Regions from separate parts of the Homo sapiens genome. Here region 2 is linked to region 1. The links are contacts of gene promoters, found by promoter capture Hi-C in human tissues and cell types (Jung and others, 2019). All regions are on one chromosome and are shown on one strand. Each heading gives the region's core, a stretch centred on a gene start or on the middle of the fragment in contact. The rest is flanking DNA. Distances are from core to core; before and after follow the strand shown. Region 1 holds the start of ADAM15 (ADAM metallopeptidase domain 15). Region 2 has its middle 29 kb from the start of PMVK.

Region 1 (3,990 bases), core at 777-3,276:
TTCCATATGCATGCATGTTATCATTGGGTGACCCTGGGCAGTGATCACATCTCCAAGCATCAGTTTTCTCACCTGAAAAAAAGGAGATGATAATAACACTATCTGCCTTACATGACAATTGAATTGAATTTTTTTTTTTTTTTGAGACTAAGTCTCACTCTGTCGCCCAGGCTGGAGTGCAGTGGCGTGATCTTGGCTCACTGCAACCTCCACCTCCCCAGTTCAAGCGATTCTCGTGCCTCAGCTTCCCGAGTAGCTGGGATTACAGGCACACACTACCACGCCCGGCTAATTTAGAATTGAAATAATTTATGTACAGTATCTTAGTACAGGACCTGACATTATAAACAATGAGTGGCAGCCATTCTTATTTAATCAGTCCTAACAAAGTTCATAAAAGTGAGACTGTGTTTGCTTAGCTTTTTCCCTAGGGCCTGGATACCCCCAGCCCCCATGACACACAATAGGGGCCAAATGAATGTGTTGTGAAAAAATGAAAAACAAAAAACAAAAAAGAACATGCTGGGATTCCTTGACAGGGTCGTGAAGCAAACTGAATGTGAATGCACAGATGGAAATGTGCCAGACAGTCATTCCAAGCAGAATGTGCAAAGACTCAGTCCACAGGGAATGCGAAGTGCCAGGGCTAGTCTCAGGAGAAACTGGCTCAGAAGAGACAGCTCTCAGGGAGGGCTAAAGTAGGAAAGAGGCTAGAAAGGGACCAGGTGAGGGAAGGCTCTGAAGGCCAAGCCCAAGAGTTCTGCCTGTCTGGCAGGCAGCAGGGCCTCTGGAGTTTCTTGGGCAAAGAGTGGCTGCTTCCTGGGTAAGGTGGCCTGTGGAAAATCCCTGACAACTGTGTAGAGACATGTCGTGAGGGATGGCAGGGAGCATAGTGAACTAGGTTTGTGGTTTGGAATCAGGGCCCCTGGGGTCCAGCCAAGTTGGATTGTTTACTATCTGTGTGACTTTGAGAGTCACTTCACCTTTCTCAACTGTAAAGTGGGGATAGCAACAGTGATAGTCGATCTGGCCTGCTCACTTCTCAGCCTCACTGTGAGAACCAAATAAGATGATTTACAGGAAAGTGCAAATGAGAGTTGTGGCTGATATCCGCTTGGAGAGAGCCTGGAGGGTGCATCCTCCCATTCTCCATCACAGAGTTGGGGAGGGAGGCACCCTCGCCCTCCAGGGGTTTCCTTTGTCCAACCCAGCCTCCTCCAACACGCGGGAATTGTCAGGCCTGGCGACTTCAGACAGGAAACGCTGTCCAGTTCCCCTTCTTTCCCGCCTCGCTCCCGGGCTGGCGCTAACGCCCACCTCCCAACAGCGCCACCCGCTGGCGGATATCCTGCACCGCGGCTGCCCGCTCCTGCGCCGCTGGCTGTGCCGGCGCTGCGTGGTGTGCCAGGCACCCGAGACGCCCGAGTCCTACGTGTGCCGGACGCTGGACTGCGAGGCCGTGTACTGCTGGTCGTGCTGGGACGACATGCGGCAGCGGTGCCCGGTCTGCACGCCCCGCGAAGAGCTCTCTTCCTCCGCCTTTAGTGACAGCAACGACGACACTGCCTACGCGGGGTGAAGAGGCGTCCTGCTCGCTCTTCCGCACCGTCCTTCCCGGTTAATAAAATGCCCTGTACGCTTCACGTGGGTCGGGGACTGGGGTGAGCCGCGCACTGCCTCGCCTGCAGTCGGGAAAGCCTGCCCGCCCGACCTCTCCGAGCCAGGCCGCGCACAGGAGGCAGGGAGGCCGCGAAGCTACTAGGGAGGGGTCCGGACCTGGCGCCGGGTGAAGGCGCGCCGCCCAAGCCGGTCGGACCGGGCACCGGCTCCCACTCCGCACAGTTGCGGGGAAGCGGTAGCGCTGAGCAGCGCGGGCGTAGTGGGCGGTGTCCCCGCTCCCGAGGCACCCGGCGCGCAGCGGGGCGGGCTTTGCCGGGGGCGGAGCTTGGCTTGGGGCCGGGTGGGAGGGGGCGGGCCGGGGCGGGGCCTGGTGGCCGCGCGGCGCTGCTGGGTTCTCCGAGGCGACCTGGCCGCCGGCCGCTCCTCCGCGCGCTGTTCCGCACTTGCTGCCCTCGCCCGGCCCGGAGCGCCGCTGCCATGCGGCTGGCGCTGCTCTGGGCCCTGGGGCTCCTGGGCGCGGGCAGCCCTCTGCCTTCCTGGCCGCTCCCAAATATAGGTGAGTCCTCCGCCTGGAGTGGGTCGGGGGGCGGACTGGGAGGGAGGTGCAGGAAAGTCGGAAGGCATTAGGGTAATGGGGCCGGACGGAGACCCTGGGAGAGCCCAGCCAGAGCGCGGCCCGCCCTGGTCCGCTGTCCTGGGCCTAGGGCCCGGTGACTTGGCGATGGGGTGAAAAGAGAAGGAGGGGGGATGCCGGCGCCCCCTGCCTCCTGCCTGGTCATCCTCTGCGCGGTCCCTGCGGACACTTTCAGGCTCAGGTACCAGGTACCGAGGGGCCTGTCCAGCGCCACTTCAAGATCGTGATGAGAGGGTCGCTGCTCCCCAGGACTGGCATCTTCGCTGCTCTGGGGCCTAGCTAACCGTTCGACCCGGTGCCAGGGCGCTGAGCGGGCATGGCTTGTAGGGTTTAGTGAAGAGGATTCTCTCTAGCCTCTATTCCAGGCCTGGGGCCGCCAGGCACTCCTCACCCTGGTGCTGTTGCCACCAGTGCCTGGCCGAGCGGGAGGGGCCCGAGATGAGCCAGGAGAAGGGAGAATTGGCCAGGAAAGAGGCTGGGACACCAACTCCTCCTTGGAACTTTCACTTCCCGCTGCTGTCTTGGGCCGGGACCGAGAGGGCAGGCGCGGGTGGAGTGTCCGGAGGAGAGAGGGCCATTGTGTGTTGGGGGGGTGGGGGGTGCTCGAGGAGGAAGCAGAGGCTGTAGGCAGCGGGTGTGCCTGACTGGGCATGAGGGTGTTTAGGGAGGTGGGGGTGTTTGCACTGCTCACCCAGAAATGGGCGTTCCTGGCATCTCCGATGTGAGCGAAGGGGAGGGTGAGCGGGCACCCGGCCACAAGGCTTAGCTCAGTCTCGAGAGGGGGCGTTCCTGAAGTGGGGGGAGAGTGATTGGGAGGGAGTGGGAACCGGGGAGGGTCCTGTGAGAACCTGGGATTGGCCGGAAGGGGACAAGGAGGGCCACAGGCTGCGCAAGCCGAAAGTCTTTCTTGGGGACTTGTGAATGGGTTGGTGGGTGGAAAGCCATAAATTAGAGAGACACCCTCTCCTTCCAGTATTCTTCTTTAAGTCTCAGCATGCAATGTGGAAGCCCCTCAGGTACCTAAGGGTCTTGATGGGCTGGGAGCTGGTGGATCTGAGGGCACCTGTCACCCCCAGCCCTGCTGTCGATTCCCTCAGTACTGTCTTGGGGTGTCCTGGGACCTGCAGGTGGCACTGAGGAGCAGCAGGCAGAGTCAGAGAAGGCCCCGAGGGAGCCCTTGGAGCCCCAGGTCCTTCAGGACGATCTCCCAATTAGCCTCAAAAAGGTGCTTCAGGTGAGCTCTCACTCCCCTCTAATAAATAAACGAATCCACACACGCCCCGGTATAGCCAGGTGTCTCAAAGCCAAAGCTTGGCTGAGGAGCTGGTGGGTAGAGCTCACTGTAGTGGGTCTATCCCAGGCCCAGCTGCCTCTCCCACCACACCCCAGCACCTGGCTTCACTTATCTCCCTCTCCCTCTGCACACACGTGTATCTGTCTGCCTCAGCCCCACCCAACCCATCCATCTCCACTGGGGAAATTGTGAAGCCAAACTTGCTTTCTTCATCTCATGTTGTCGGTTTTCTCAGTGGGGGGATTTGGAAAGAGTCAGGACCTTACCAAACCCCCCCCCCCCCACCCCATTCTAAAGCTGAGTCAGAGGAAGGGCTGGGGCTTGTGCTGGGTCCTACACGGTGCTTCCTCTCTGGGCAGGAAGCCGAGAAGGGGTGGCTCAGATACCTTCCTTGACCTCCGCACACAACCCCCCAGAACAATGCTCCAGGCCAGGCAGGGTT
Region 2 (3,990 bases), core at 723-3,222, 140 kb before region 1:
TGGCCAGGCTTGTCTTGAGCTCCTGACTTCAGGTGATCCACCCGCCTCAGCCTCCCAAAGTGCTTAATTTTGGCCTCCCAAAATTAAGCCTCCCAAAGCTACCTCGCCCAGCCTTAATTTCTTAGTGTTTTACATTTATTGCAATGTATATTTTAATGAAAAATATTCAGATTCTATACTTTTTAGAAAAAATGACTTTTATACTTTTATCTAGATCATTACTATCAACAGCACACAAATTAGGTGAAGATCTTCATCAAATTAATATAATTTGTGATTTTCTAAAATAAAGGCAAGAAAAATAAACGTTATGGAAAAATAGAATAATTTATAAGTGACATTTACCTTCATTACTTATGCAATCATCTCTGGCACATTAATAGAACATCTAGACATATACAACAATAATTAAATTCAATCAATTTTGATATGTTGGCAACTTTGAGTTACATATTTTTCAGCTTTGTCATTATAAAGGTATATTTGTCAAAGTAGGAGGTTAGAATATATATACATATATATGAACATATGAATATATATGTGAATATATATATATATATATATATATATATTTTTTTTTTTTTTTTTTTTTTTGAGACAGAGTCTCACTTTGTTGCCCAGACTGGACTGCAGTGTTGCAATCTTGGTTCACTGCAAACCTCTACCTCCCCGGTTCAAGTGATTCTCCTGCCTCAGCCTCCCGAGTAGCTGGGATTACAGGCATGAGCCACCACGCCCAGCTAATTTTTGTACTTTCAGTAAAGATGGGGTTTTACTATGTTGGCCGGGCTGGTCTCGAACTCCTGATCTCAGGTGATCCACCTGCCTCGGCCTCCCAAAGTGCTGGGATTACAGGCGTGAGCCACTGCGCCCAGCCACATTTTATTTATTTAACAGTTTGTTAGTTTTATTTATAACTTTTTTTTTTTGAGACAGGGTCTCACTATGTTCTTCAGGCTGAACTCAAACACCTAGGCTCAAGCAACCCTCCCACCTCAGCCTTCCTAGTAGGTAAGAGTACAGGCGTGAGCCTGGCTTATTTATAATTTTTGAATGTTTAGACATCTAGTATGTAGGCCTCTTGTTCCAGCCCCACAAATGTGAGGGGCAGTTCCATAGGCCACACCTCAGACTCTTACTAAGGATCACGGAAGGAAAGCACAAGGCCGAGGAGAAACAGCTCCAGCTACTAGAGATGGCGCTACTCTCAGGGCCCCAGGCCCACCACCACGATGAGCTCCCAGCCAGCCCACAGAGGAAATAAAGAGGTTCCCCAGTAGCCAGGGACAGCCCACCTTTCCCATTGAAGAGCATTCTTTTCCCAGGATTATGGATCCTTCCGGAGAAACCCCAGCCCTACCAAGAGAGGGTGCTCTTGCTCTATGGCCCCAAGTACAGCAGCCCACAATATTCATTCATCTTTCATTCAATCGGCAGGGATTGGCCAGGTGCTGTGTGAGCTAGACACTGGAGAAGCATGGTGCTTGCCCTCATGCTGCCTACAGTCCAGTGGGAGACAGACAACATGACCACAAACAGGCCACCTGCGGCCCATCCCATTCAGGCGCTACTGCACTGGGTCCAGACAGCTCTGGCTTTAGTCTGTCCTCCAAGACAAAGTATGAGCGCATCACATCCATGGGTCCTACCAGCAGTTCTTGTCACCTCAGCTCTGGACACCCCACAAACCACTGGCCTACAAGAACACTCAATCCCACAAGACAAACAGCAGTCTGCAGCTCAGCGTCCTCTAAATTCCTACAGATTCAAGAAATAGTTTTCCTTCCCCCAACTCCCCAAAAGTGAGGATGGGCCGGGCATGGTGGCTCACGCTTATAATCTCAGCACTTTGGGAGGCCAAAGTGGACAGATCACTTGAGGACAGGAGTTTGAGACCAGCCTGGCCAACATGGGGAAACCCCATCTCTAAAAAACACAAAAAAATTAGCCAGGCTTGGTGGCACATGGTAATCCCAGCTACTCAGGAGGCTGAGGCAGGAGAATCGCTCGAACCCAGGAGGTGGAGATTGCAGTGAGCCAAGATCGTGCCACTGCACTCCAGCCTGGGCAAACTCTGTCCCAAAAAAAAAAAAAAAAAAAAGTAAGAATGGCTCAGAGGCAGAGCTCCGGCTCAGTTACGCACAAGAGATGATGTTGCCAAACAGAATGATGGATCAAAGCTAGTGCACTCAGGTATCCTGGGACTGCATTCTGCCCAAGCACTGGGTAAGTGCTTACTTCATATGTGCGTAATGAAAGGGCTCCTTTGGGCAATTTTTCTGAAACGAAGAGACTCCCTGATCCTAAAGGGAATTGATCTCACCACCTCTAAATATAAAAATTCCTTGCAACTTTTCCATAGCAGTTTTTCCCTTTTCAGTTTACCAAGTCTTCAAAAATCTGAAGGTTGGGTCTCGGCCAGGTACCCTGTTCCAGTGTGAGTGATGGAAGGGAGCCCGTTACGGAAGAAGCACGCTTCAAGAGCCAACATGAAGCCACTCCGAATACAGCGCATAGGACGCCCATGTAAAGACAGGAAAACTCCAGAGTCATCCATATTAAGGTGATCTCACCAAGGAAGGAGGCAAAAGAGAGAACAGAAGGCAGGGCCTGAGGAACACCTGTATTTCTAGGACAAGAAGAGAGGATGTTGGGAAAAGCTGAGTGTTAGGAGAAGCTGAGGCAGGGTTTGCATGTCTGACACAATGTAAAAGAGTCTTGGAACATGTCCGGGGTCCAGGGTCTAAAACCCCTTGTGGCCTTTGGAACACCAAGCTCTGTGCTAAAGGGTGGAAGGCTACCCTGACGCACCATAATCTAAGCCCAGGGCATAAAATCCCTCGTGACTTGGATAGAATCCAGGGCTCATGGCTCTGGAATGTGTCTAGACTTGCTGGCTCCTTGCTCTCCCAGGATCAATTGTATCTTGAGTTAAAAGAACCTACTCTCACTATCTCAAGTAGCAGAAAATGTTCCTTATAAATGCTAAACCATCACAGCTATAGATCATGTGCCTGCCCTTTTGACCTCCACATTCTCACCACCTGTTTCTTTGTTGGATTACTAATAAATACCACAGGGTCCCAGAGCTCAGGGCCTTTGCAGCCTCCACAATCGCGATGGCCCCCTGATCCCACCTTTCTCTCTCAAACTCTTTTTCTCAATCCTTTGAATTTGCCGGATTTTGTCACCCCTACGACCTGGTGTTGGGTCTGATCACCCCAACAAGAGGAGGAGTCAGAAATAGAAAAGGCAGGAGCAGAAAGGCAGGAGAACCAAAAAAGTGAATTCAAGAGAGAGGGAGTGGAGTGGGTGAGTTGGTCGGCTGATGCAGACTGGTCATGAGGGAGAACTAAAGACGCTGTCAGTGGTGGGTGACCTTCAAGAAGCAGTTTCAGTAGAGACAGGAGCAGAGGTCAAATTGCAAAGTGTTCAGGAGTAAAGGGGACAAAATAACTGAGATGATACTGGAGGGGTCAGCAGAAGGAAAGCTGTTTCAGGACAGGCGAGGATGGAGAAATTGGAAAACATGAGAGAGAGGGGCTAGTTAATGTGGCAGGGCCATAGATGGGGGTGGGCACTAGTGAGCAGCTAAGCACGGAAAGACTCACCACCGAGGCAGGAGGAAGGGATGGGAGGAGGAGAATGGGGTTGAGGAGATAAGGCGGGGACACAGGCTAGGGCTCAGCCGCTCTGGCTTTCATCACCTGCTCAGCTTCCTGATGCCTGGAAAAGAGACAACATCAATGTGGCCACACCACCACTGTGTGTCTGGGACCTGAGCTAATGGATCCATGTGCCCCAGAGCCCAGGCTCTTTCATGGTCCTAATTATGGCCTCCTGACCAGTGGTGGATTCACTCTCTTATTCACTTTTTCAACATTTACTGCCCACCGGCCACATGAGAAATGCTAGGAGTTGCATCAGTAAGAGGGACCAGAGAGCTCAGAGGGTTGCAGGGAGGACAGTTACATAGACTTTCCCAGGAGA

The links. Contacts are between HindIII fragments. The study calls those that stand out against the background at their distance.
Region 2: a fragment that was not itself captured here is called in contact with the fragment with the promoter of ADAM15 in region 1 in 1 of the 25 tissues and cell types used here (spleen).

Annotation. Positions count from the first base shown.
Region 1 is chr1:155,049,290-155,053,279 of GRCh38, forward strand. ADAM15 (ADAM metallopeptidase domain 15) reads left to right here and starts at 2,027. Exons shown (of 23, transcript NM_207197.3): 1 at 2,027-2,176; 2 at 3,382-3,488. The coding sequence starts at 2,098. It overlaps DCST1 (DC-STAMP domain containing 1), which reads left to right. Exons shown (of 17, transcript NM_152494.4): 17 at 1,328-1,641. The coding sequence ends at 1,579. DCST1-AS1 (DCST1 antisense RNA 1) reads right to left here. Exons shown (of 4, transcript NR_040773.1): 2 at 1-72. ADAM15-EFNA4 (ADAM15-EFNA4 readthrough) reads left to right here and starts at 2,027. Exons shown (of 26, transcript NR_176418.1): 1 at 2,027-2,176; 2 at 3,382-3,488. RefSeq lists an enhancer at 1,202-1,261 and a silencer at 1,732-2,191. The HindIII fragment of the contact is 8,680 bases long and covers 1-3,990 here.
Region 2 is chr1:154,905,452-154,909,441 of GRCh38, forward strand. No RefSeq gene overlaps it. Among named protein-coding and RNA genes, the nearest start is that of PMVK, 29 kb to the right of the region's middle. The HindIII fragment of the contact is 9,328 bases long and covers 1-3,990 here.